Linked DNA regions of Homo sapiens: region 2 is linked to region 1. Evidence: promoter capture Hi-C in 16 types of primary human blood cells and fetal thymus (Javierre and others, 2016). All regions are on one chromosome and are shown on one strand. The core of a region is centred on a gene start or on the middle of the fragment in contact, and the rest is flanking DNA. Distances in the headings are between cores, read along the strand shown. Region 1 holds the start of RNF13 (ring finger protein 13). Region 2 holds the start of MED12L (mediator complex subunit 12L).

The links. Contacts are between HindIII fragments. The CHiCAGO score rates a contact against its expected background, and 5 or more counts as called.
Region 2: the fragment with the promoter of MED12L here is called in contact with the fragment with the promoter of RNF13 in region 1 in 1 of 17 cell types (fetal thymus); the score reaches 5.6 in fetal thymus.

Annotation. Positions count from the first base shown.
Region 1 is chr3:149,810,228-149,815,904 of GRCh38, reverse strand. RNF13 (ring finger protein 13) reads right to left here and starts at 2,690. Exons shown (of 10, transcript NM_183381.3): 1 at 2,552-2,690. RefSeq lists enhancers at 2,847-2,956, 2,822-3,333 and a silencer at 3,167-3,316. The HindIII fragment of the contact is 6,716 bases long and covers 1,344-5,677 here.
Region 2 is chr3:151,082,186-151,087,862 of GRCh38, reverse strand. MED12L (mediator complex subunit 12L) reads right to left here and starts at 2,199. Exons shown (of 45, transcript NM_001393769.1): 1 at 1,927-2,199; 2 at 838-1,065. The coding sequence starts at 936. RefSeq lists silencers at 1,447-1,741, 2,178-2,547. The HindIII fragment of the contact is 3,991 bases long and covers 392-4,382 here.

The DNA of each region.
Region 1 (5,677 bases), core at 1,441-3,940:
GAAACAACTTACTATCTACCACATCAATGACTGTAAGAACCACCTGAGATATTATAAAGCACTTAGAATTGTATTTGGCTCATATTAACCAATCAATATTAGCTACATTACTGTTTTGTTGTTGTTGATATACTATGCTATATAAACTTTGACAATACCAATCATATGCTGTGTTGTTCCCAAATCAACTTTTGTGTAATGTAAAAGATTCATAAAAGTTTAATATTTTACTTTTATATATGCTCAATAAATATCTATAGAATACATACATTTTTGAACAATGACTCACCAGTATGCTTTATTAAAAGGAATTCGCTTCTAATTTTGTTTCCTCTTTTGGGAAAAGTAACAATGCTTACCAACTTTCTTCCCCTTTTTATGTCATGTGAAACTATCATATGCAATGCCATATGGTAAACATGACAAATGGTGCAAAACACTGTTTTGACTGAAACTCATTTGCCTCCTGCTAAACATCAATTCCCAGATTTAAAAATATTGTTATTTAAATGCCAACCATTTCTAGGTCACACCTACATGAAGTAAGCAAAACATACCATGATAGTTGACCAAACTATTTCATTTCATACATCTCTTATGGCAAGAACTATAAGGCATAAAATGCCTTCCTAGCCAACTTAACTCAAAGACATAAATCTATCCCTTTAGTCATACCCTCAGGCCTACCCTCACTTAGCTAAAGTTAGTGCCTGTAAAAGTTCTGATAAATCTACGTTATTCTGGAATGCAGAAAAATATCAAGGGAAGAAAGCTGAATGCTAGCAACAATTTATGCCCCTCCAAAATTATTGAGAAAATTAGCTTTATACAAGCATAGATGAGAACTTATCCCAAACCCTTCAGTATTATACCTCTCAAACCAAGATTCTGTCTATGATTTGCATTACACATAGAGACAAGATGTCAAGCTGCCTAGCTTCAAACAAAGGCAGAGGTTAAAAAAAAAAAAACTAATAAAACAGTTCTCATTCCCTACATAGAGAAAAATAACTGTGCCTCTCTCCAACAGTTTCCAACAAAACAAAAAAAAATTATGTAATAGACAAATTTTGTTTCATTTAATCCTCATAACAACTCATTTCTTATTTACGGAAAATGTCACAGAATTAGTAAATGGCAGAGCTGAACCCAGCTTGACTCCCAAATTTGGAATTTAGTATTTTGAAACATTTGTTTTTGCCATAATCCATAATACACTTTACATTTCCATCTTCCTCTTGACACACACATACTGTTAAAAACTGAAACAAAAGCTTCTTGCCATAATATTTACTTTTATTCCATACAATGTCCTCTGGTATTTTTTCTTTCTTTATAAAGCTTATGTCAATGTACTAAATTGATTCTAAAATCTATTAATGAATCCTTATGGGCCCTGCACTACAGCACTGCACTACACTTCCTGCACTACAGCACTGCACTACACTTCTTACCTCCTGTTTAAAGTTCTTTTTAATTGCTATCACTGTCCAGTTTTGTTACTTCGAGATGGAGCTAATGTCCACCCATTAAAAAACTGTGCTTAAATAGCATAAACTCTTGAAAGCCCTACCTTAAATCTTGAATTGATCTGTTTCTCCAGAAGAACTCTTTGGAGGCACAGCCACCTTACTTATTTATATTGTATCAAAAACTGCAGATGTTCTCCTTGGAGAACAAACACATCATTGTTGAAAGGAATGCATCAGTTTTCACTGTTTCTGCTGCATCACTGACGAACAGTAATAGCCGGGCAGGTTTGGGGCAACAAGAGAGGACCCGAGCAGCTGCCCACGGTGCTGAAACTGATGATGAAACGACAGTTTTGGAAATTTACTATTTACTATTGTCAGATTAGGACAAAATAGAGGAATTTACCAGACACTGGCAGAGAAAACTGAGTGGCCGCCACCAAAGTTGCATGAGTGCTTCCGGGATACTGCTGTTTGGCTTCGATGTCTGCCCACTCTCTCTTTCTCTCTGGGACAAAGTTATTTAATAAGTGCAAGTCAAGTCAAGTCAAGCATACAGGCAGAGCTGCTGACTGACCGTAGTATCTGGCCCTAGCAGGGGTTAAGTCCCAAACCTGCAATCTGAGCTTCCAGGGAAAGAAAAAGGGGGTGGGGGTAAAAGAGAGGAAGTGACTGCCCTCCTTCTATTCAGAGACAAAACAGCCCCCTCAACTAAAGTCAAGCGATGTGCCCGAGGACGTTGCGGCAGGTACTTGACCAAGAAAAGCCTTCCAAACATGTTTTCCAGGCAGGCTCTTGCAGCCTCAAGAAGGGAATGAGAGAAGCAAAACCGGTAACTCAACTTTGGACACACACAAACTCGCGGAATGAGAGTGCAGGGGAGACTCGGTCCCCCGAGGGCAAGGCTATTTTATTCCTTTTGCAAAAAGCCTAATTGACTTCTCACCCAGCTCTAGAGGAGCAGCAAAGACCTCAGCAGCAGGGCCGACTCCGAGCTCGAGGGCCAACAAGCGGGGTATGTTCTCTGGGCCGCTCGATAACGAGCTGCCCGGCTGCCGCGAAGCCGGACAGGGTCTTACCTTGAAGTCCGGCCCCCGCAACACAAACAGTCTTGCCAGCCGCGTCGCTGCGGGAGAAGTCCCTACCCTGATTTCATGACTGAATATCCGCACCGACCCCCACAGCCCGGAGTACTAGCAGGGACGACAACACCTAGGCGAAGCGGAAGTCCCGCCCCACGCGCCTCATTGGTCCGCACCCAAAGGCACAGAAAACCCACTGGGCAACATGGTTGCCTGTTAAGGCTCTTTCCCACTCTCACGCGGAGTCTCGCTACTTGCTCTAGCCCGGCTCGGAGAAATGCCCAGTTTGCGAGTCTCGTTCTTGGCCGCGTGATCCGTCTTCCCTGGAAGGGAAGAGCAGGGTGGGGCAGGCGTCTGCGGAACTGGAGCGCGGCTGAAGAAGCTGCTCTTGGCAGAGGAAGGGGCAGGCTGGCAAAGTGGATTGGCTGTGGGCGCCTGCCGCTAACCATGTGCCCCTAGAAACGGAGACCGTAGGGTCTGGAGGGCGCGGGACCGAGCGGGCAGGGCCGGTCGGTCTGATCTGCTCCGGCTGTTGGGACAGAGTAGCCCAAGATTCGGCTGCCGGGCTGCCCCCGGGCGGGCCTGGCCCTGGCGCTGACGCGTCTCTTCCCTGCACACTACACTCACCCGACCTACTAAAGAGGCGAGGGCGAGGCCTCATCCGCCCGCCTTCCGTACCGTGCCCAGTCTGAGATCAGAGTGGGTGGGGACCGTGGCCACACCTTAAAGTAGGGCTCAAATTGTTAGAGATGCGAGCGGCCCGAGGTCTGAACGCCAGTCCCCTGAGGCCTGGCTCGGATCCACGCTGGCATCAGCACTCTGGGCCTGACACGCGCCATCCCCGGGGCTTAGCAAAAGTCAAACCATGTGATTCAGGCCCTAGGTCAGCCTTTTAAAACCCTTGCCTCCTTTTGATGAACCAAAAATCTCCTCCCCTGCCGCCCTTCTGATAAGCCTTCCTTTCTGGTTGTCTCAATCTTAAACCAGTCGAAACTTAAATTACCGGATTGTACCATCCACATTGATTAATCATTGCCAACTCGCCACCTTACAAAAGCAGTGTGACTTAGGCAAATATTACAGAGTCCTGAAAGAAATGTCAGGAGACATAGAATCAGGCACTACTTCTGCTTCAAATAATAAGGCACCCTTAATAAGGCCTTTACAGGCTTCAACTCCTTCAACATCATCTTTTAAAAATGGTGGCGAGGAGGCTATCACACAGAGTATTAGTAGAATACCATTGGATGTAACTTGTCACTTTGATTGCTTGGAGAGCCCTGAGTAGGTGGGACACAGCAATGGGGAAAAGACTCTTTCCTTATTGTGTATCCTTTTGTGCCTTTTGAATTTTGAACCTTGCAAATATTACCTACTCAAATAAAATTCAAATACAAGAAATTTAAGATCAAATTTTAAAAAATTAAATAAAAGCTATCAAAGGTACTTTCCTCTTCTGTGTATCCTATGAGTATTCTATGTAGTCTTAACTTTTCATTGGTTGCAAAGACATTCAATACTTAAATCACAATTCTGCCTTTAAGAAAGTCATAAATAAAAGTCAGCATTGGGAATATTACTAAGAAGACTAATTAGTATAAACACATTTATAATATCTCTATAAGCATTTTTTTCATTAAATTATCCCAAATTGGTATATTAAATCAGATTTCTTGCATAACATCAAAATAAATTTTTTTAGGCCGGGTGCGGTGGCTCATGCCTGTAATCCCAGCACTTTGGGAGGCCAAGTCAGGCGGATCACTTGAGGTCAGGAGTTCAAGACCACACTGGCCAACATGGTGAAACCTCGTCTCTACTAAAAATACAAAATTAGCCGGGCATTGTGGTGCACACCTGTAATCCCAGCTACTTGGGAAGCTGAGGCAGGAGAATCGCTTGAACATGGGAGGCAGAGGTTACAGTGAGCTGAGATCCCACCACTGCACTCGGGCATAGGCAACAGAGCAAGATTCCATCTCCAAAAAAAAAAAAAAAAATTAAGTCCACAGAGAGGAGCTTTGGGTTTTGTTGTTTTATTTTTATTTATTTTAGAGACAAGGTCTCACTCTGTTGCCCAGGCTGGAGTGCAGTGGTGAGATCATGTCTCACTGCAGTCCAGAACTCCTGGGCTCAAGTAATCCTCCCACCTCAACCTCTGGAGTAGCTAGGATTACAGGCATGTGCCACCAGGCCTGGCTAATTTTTTTATTTTTTTTAGCCTTACAGTCTGGCTATGTTGCCCAGGCAGGTCTCAAACTCCTGGCCTCAAAGGATCTTCTTGCCTCGGTCTCCCAAAGTGCTAGGATTACAGGCATGAGTCACCACGCTCAGACAAAGAGCTTTGCTTATTCCTTAAAGGCACCTTGAGTACAGAATATTTTACTTCTGGTTTCAACCTGCTCTTCAGATAACAATAGGTATAGTTCTCTCAACTATGAACAAGGTAATGTGTCATTTGTACTGCATTTAGGCTACACTCTGCAAAAACATTTACTCTCCCAACCTGTGCTGAAAAAGGTAAATTGGAAAAAAATATATTGGAAAAATGTATTAATCTTTCTAAAGCAGATTAGACAGTAAGATTGACAGATATCATAATTACAATTTTCAAGAACATGAAGGGTTAATAAGGCACGTGATACTAATATACCACTAATTATCTTTTTAAAAATCAAAATGTGCTTTTAGGGTGTTGTATCTAACAGGTTTTTTTTTTAAACCTTCCTAAAAAGTACAAACAGATAGCACGTAAAAGTAATTGTAGAATCTCCTGCTTCCAAAATATTGTAAGGCAACAACAACAAAAAAAGACAGATACCCAATTATGTAATTGTCTGAAATGGCTTAGAAATAGTTCTCCCTAAATACCAGAAAGAATGCAGGCTGTCTCCTTAAGCACAGAGATTAATCAGAAACCTTAAACAATTCTATATATTATCATATTTAGAAACAGAAAAAAAGTAATTTTAGAATCAGAAAAAAGGTATTTTCATTTTGAAAACAAAATAAAATTATTACTATTAAAAGAAAGAATAAGATCCATAAAGAATTTATATGTGTATGAAATAAGCAATTTTGAAAAGTACCAAACAGAATTTCTACAAATAGCATCAGGGAACT
Region 2 (5,677 bases), core at 950-3,449, 1.3 Mb before region 1:
TGTAGCCAAAGGTGATCATTATAACTAGAGACTTGTTACATAATTACTTGTTAACTCCTGACAAACAGATACACAGCTACAAAATGCCATGGTTACCCTAGCCATTGAAGCTAATGTAGCTGGTGCAAGAGTCAAGGTGTCTCCAATTAATCTCATTCAAAGAAATAAGCAATCCTGGGAACTATTCCCTCCCAAGGTAACTCGCCTGCTTTTACGTATACAAAACAGCCTCTAGCAATTAAGCCCATTGCCTCTAGAGACGAAAATCAGTGTTTCTCCTTAATTTTAATTTTTAAAGGGCAGAAGGGTTACAGAGGTATATTCAGAGAGCTAAATATTTATCACTTCGATAAAAACGACTTCCATTCCAAACTGGAAAATTTGAAAAGCTTCCCCCTCACCTTCGTCCCTGGCCAGCAAAAGCAAAACGCAAGACCTCAGTGTAGGATGCACTGCATTCCAACATTTTTCAAAAAGTTTACGACGATTTACCGAAGCGGCAAGAAGAAAAATAAAGCAGGCAGAAACGGGTGAGAGCGAGCAAGGTTTCGGCAGGGAAGAAGCCCGAGAAGCGCCCGGCGGCGCCGTGCAAGGCCCGGCAACGGGAAAGCGACCGGCACATGGAAAGCGAGCGCCCCAGTGGAGCGCGGGGACTGACAGCCGCTCGGTCTCCGCCGCCGGGGGGTCGCCCAGCACCCCCAGCCTGGCCCCCGCCTCTAATCCCCCTCCCCGACCTCTTCCACCGCAGCGCCGGCGATGCCCGCTGGGCCAACTTGGCCCCGGGTCAGTGCTGCAGAGCGCGGCCCCGGTTGCCGGGGAGGCCGCCGGCGCCCTTACCTCCTTCTGCTTGGGGTCCTGTGGGTAGACGTCGGGCGGCCCGAGCCGGGGGCGCTTCAGCGGTCTCTGCTCATAGCTGAGAAGCCCGAAGGCGGCCATGATCTCTCATGTTAACCGGCGAAATGAATGAGAGTTGGAGCTGGAGCAGCCGCCTCTGAGCACCAGGGAGCAGCACTTTGCAGACAGACTCCCTCTCTCCCCCTCCTCGCTCGCTCGCTCGCTGTGGCGCTGCAGGCAGGAGGAATAAAGCAGGTTGGATGCTGCCGCTGCCCGGCAGCAGACACGCACTGATGGGGACAGCCTTCGGCGGGTACTCGGCTGCGCTCGAGCCCCGGGACGCACCGCTCCGGTGGCGGCGGCGGAGGGACTAGAGGTCGGCCAGGGTCCTCCGCGGCGCCTGCCTCCTCTGCTCCCCCCTACCTTGTCTCCAGGGGGAGGAGCAGCTGATGGGAACGTGTGACTTTTTTCACCAATGGACCCAAACCCACCCCAGCTGGGCGCAGGATGGGGGTGGGGGTGGGGCACTGGAAAAAAAAAAAAAAAAACTTTTCTTGGCGCCTAGGCTGGTGGCTGAAGTGCTCGCCCAAGGCGAGGGTGGCCCTCCCCTCCCGGGAAGAAGCTGTGGAGCGGACCGCCCCCGCCTCTCTTCCCCGGCAGGGACCCTTCCCCCGCCGCCACGCGCCCCGCAGACCCCGCCACCTGGACACGGACCGGGCCAGTGCAGGCAGAGGCAGGTCTGGAGGGGGCGCGAGACGCAGGGATGCGGCCGGTGGGAAGCGGCCGGTGCCTCCTAGACGCCCGCCAGGTTCCAGTGGCGCATCCGCAGCTACGGTCCCCTCGGCGGCTCCGGGCAGGCGCCGAGGCGCGCTGCTGGCGGTCGCGGCGGCTGGAGGGGGCCGTGCTCACGGTGGCGTGGGGCCGACTTAACCCTTTACAGTCCCTCCAGGGGCTGGGGAAGGGGGTGAGGAGCGATGGCTGTGAGCGCCGACGGGGGCAGCCAGCCCGCAGGCGTCTCGGGCTCCTCCAGCCCGCCGCCTCCCCACGGCCCCAGCTCCTCTTCCCTTCCGCCCCCAACCCCCAACACTTTACCTGTTGGTCCGCGGCTAGCGGGCTGGGGCTGGCGGCGGCGGGGTCACTCCGGCCGCCGCAGCCTCCATCATTCGGGTTGGGATGGGGGACTTGGATTTGATTTTATTTGTGCGGTATCTGCCTCGCCCGGACGAGCTCCGGGAACGCCGCGAAGTTTGCCACTGTCTGGGGGCGGCGAGCGACGCCGGCTCGCCGCCGGCGTTCTCGCCCCCACGGCCCGGGAGCGCGAGCTTCCGAGTTGGCGGACGGCGGCGCGGCGTCCGCACTGAGCATGCCCAGCTCGGCGGCCGGACCGCGGAGGAGTTGGCTGAGAGCGCGGTGAGCGCGCTCCAATCCGCCTCTCCGGGTTTTCGCAGCCGCAGAGCGCGCAGCCCGCGGGCCCCGGCGCCGAGGCTGGCCCTGGGGTGAACCTGGGCGAGGGAGGGAGCGCCCTCTGGAGCCCTGCTCCAAGCCCCCCGCTGCACCCTCCGCCTCGACCTCCCCAGAGGTCGCGGTCCCCGTGGCCTGGGCCGAAAACCTCACCTGCGCCGGGAGCGTGGAAGGGGCGGGGGGGGTGATCCTCCAGGGCAGACCTTGGTCATCCAACCCGCCCTCGCTCCTCGCTTCGGGGCGCGGGCACCAAGATGCTGGGCCACCTGGCGCGAGCTCTGCGAGACCGGAGCCGCGGAGGCGGGCTCGGCCTGTCCTGAGGGACCCCGCGGGAGGCGTGCCCGGGAGAATGCGCCCGCACTTGGCCAAGAATGATGGCTGCCATTTATGGAGCCTTCGCTACGTGCCAGGATCTTGATAGTCAGAATCTCTGGTCCTTACAACCTTCCACGGTCTTACTGTACCCTTTTTATGGATGGAGAAATTGAGCCAGCTCAGAGAGGACCACTCACTTGCCGAAAGCCACGAAACGAGTCGGAATTTGAACCCACGACTGATTCTAAGTTTCTGACCTGTTTTCCCTGACTTGGACTTGGAGGGACTGGGTTCCTAACCTGTCCTTGCCTGATGGACTCACGTTCTCCACGGCTTGAGGCATTCTCGGCCTTCCCTCTCTGTAAGGTGGTAAAGGCAGATTCTAACCGGAAGCCTTTGATACATAGTAGGTGCTCTGGAAATGCTGGTTGAATCTGAACATCAACTTTGATGTTCGTTGACATTTAAGCAAAGGGGGAAGAAGGAGATAAATAAAGTGAAGGTAATGTGGTAGAGGCTAGTTCCTCACTCCTGATCCTGACCTGTGAGCACCTCCAAACCCAGTTTGAGGCTGAGTCAGGTGTTTAGCTTTTGGCTTCCTTAATCTGAACAATTACTTCTAGAGAGCATTTACCTAACTTCACTGGAGGGCATTTCCTGACCACCTTCCCCATCTTGCCCCAGGGTCTTCTCTTCCACTAATATCCTGGGATTAATTTCATGGCTGGACTTGCCCTTGTGATACAGGCATCTATCAAATGTAGCTCCCTTGTTTGAAAGAAAGGACAGTTTTTTGTTGTTGTTGTTTTCTTTGTTTGGTTGGTTGGTTGTTTTTTGAGACAGAGCCTCGCTCTGTCGCCCAGGCTGGAGTGCAGTGGCGAGATCTCGGCTCACTGCAAGCTCCGCCTCCTGGGTTCACGCCATTCTCCTGCCTCAGCCTCCCGCGTAGCTGGGGCTACAGGCGCCCGCCACCACGCCCGGCTAATTTTTTTTGTATTTCTTTTTTTTAGTAGAGACGGGGTTTCACAGTGTTAGCTAGGATGGTCTCGATCTCCTGACCTCGCAATCCGCCCACCTCGGCCTCCCAAAGTGCTGGGATTACAGGCGTGAGCCACCGCGCCCGGCCGAAAGGGTTTTTTTTATTATCTAACTTTATTAGGGAAATTATTAAACATACAAAAAGCTGAAGAAATCATATAAGGAGCCCTCAAATATTCATCTCTCAGCTATAAAAATTAAAGTTACTATTTTTGTTTCATCTTTCTCCCCCATTCCCAACTCACTGACATACACTAGTAAGGACAGTTTTACTCATTGTTGCAACTCAGAAACACTGTATGGGACCTGACACATGGTGAGCATTCAAAAATGTTGGCTTATGGAATGGATGATAGGTAGGCGATGTGTGGATGGACTGATGATTGCATCATTAGTGGTACTTTGGGAATAACAGCCTGCGCTGCTACTGAATCAAACACCCCTAGTTTGGGGGAGAAATGTAATCTCAGTTCTTCCCTTGGGATGCCTAAGCAAGCGCCTCCAACTGAAACACTTTGAAGCACTTAAAATCTTATCTGCCCATAAGAATTTTATCTTAAAATCAAAATGTGTCAGTAGTGTGCCCCTGGTGTTTGGGAAGAAGGGAAAATAATAGCCCTCTCCCTGTTGTTGTCCCTTCTTAACTCCCTCTCCTGAAACAGTCTGGCATGAATTCCTTGACCCTCTCAACACAAAATAAATAAATATTGAAAACTTTAATATGCTTAGAAGCTTCCCCTAGGAATCATTATTTTACTGCATGGATTTCCCATGGGCATTTGGCTCCTTACCCTGGGAAATCTTTGTAATCTACCCCCTACCTAGCAATTCAGCTTTTTCTCCTTAACCTCTTGCCCTAGTTAGCTTCCTTTCCTAATATGGAATTCCCAGGCTCTTCATCTTCAAATACTCACCTCTACAGTCCTCAGAGTACGGATTCCTGTACAAAGCCCCTTCAAATTCCCCTGGCAAAAGGTGATCTTTTGGCTTTTTAGTGCCCTTAGCACTTAATTTTTATTATCTTAACACTTATTTATTGGCATGCATTTGAATGTGTCACACAGAATAGTCTTGTTGCCTCATTCTCACCTTTTCCTCCTGGTCCCCTTCTTCCATTCCAGGTCTTTAAGCAGACTAAGATCAGCTCATCATGATGGGCTTAACCTGTAACCCACTGTGTTCTATACAGTGCTTGAATTTCCCACGTGGTGCTGGTTAATATAGCAGGCAAACATTCTCGTTGAATAATGTGGGTTCTAGCTGATACTGTTCCTAAGGGGTATTTTATCTTTACCTAGCTAATGATTCCCTGGGACCAGGAAAAATTTGCATGGAACAGAAATTAGAGAAGACCAGAGGCTCCCCAAATAGGTCCCAGCCTTGAACCTCAGCCTAGCAAGAAGGGATGAGTTCAGGTTCCTAAGGAAGTTTTGTATAGCTATCCAGGGAAATGGGGTTGAAATGTGGCTGGAGAAAGGTGAATGAATTACAAACCATTTTAAGCATATGGTGCTATATCCTCCAAGTATAAAGCTGAGTCTTCACTGCTGCTTTTGAGGGTTACCAGGTATTTAAAAGTTGACCCTTTTTCTTGGGTCACATTCAAGGGTTTCTCAAAGATTCCCTAACTGCTTATGTTCCCTCTGAAAGCCCTGATTTTCAGCATTCTGCAAGGAGTCCCTCACAGTTGGTATCCATTTGTGCTTTTGGGCAAATCCCTTCAATATAGCTCATGGCTGGCTTTCTCTCCCTACATTTGGTCTGCCAGAAATACACAAATGTCCTTTGCCTGTACATACGCTAGTGCAGGCATTTTCTAACCAGCCTTCTGTCCTTGCCCACCATGAACACACTCTGCAAGCCACAATTCTCCACCTTGAAAGTTCAATAGTCTAAATCGGAGACCAGTTCCTCAGGTTCATCCAAACTGCAGAGGATGAATGTCAAATGCTCAGGTCAGTGACCCTCTCAAAAAGTTTGAAGTGAGGAATAAAATTTCTTTGGTGAAAGGCAGAGACACAATCATTTG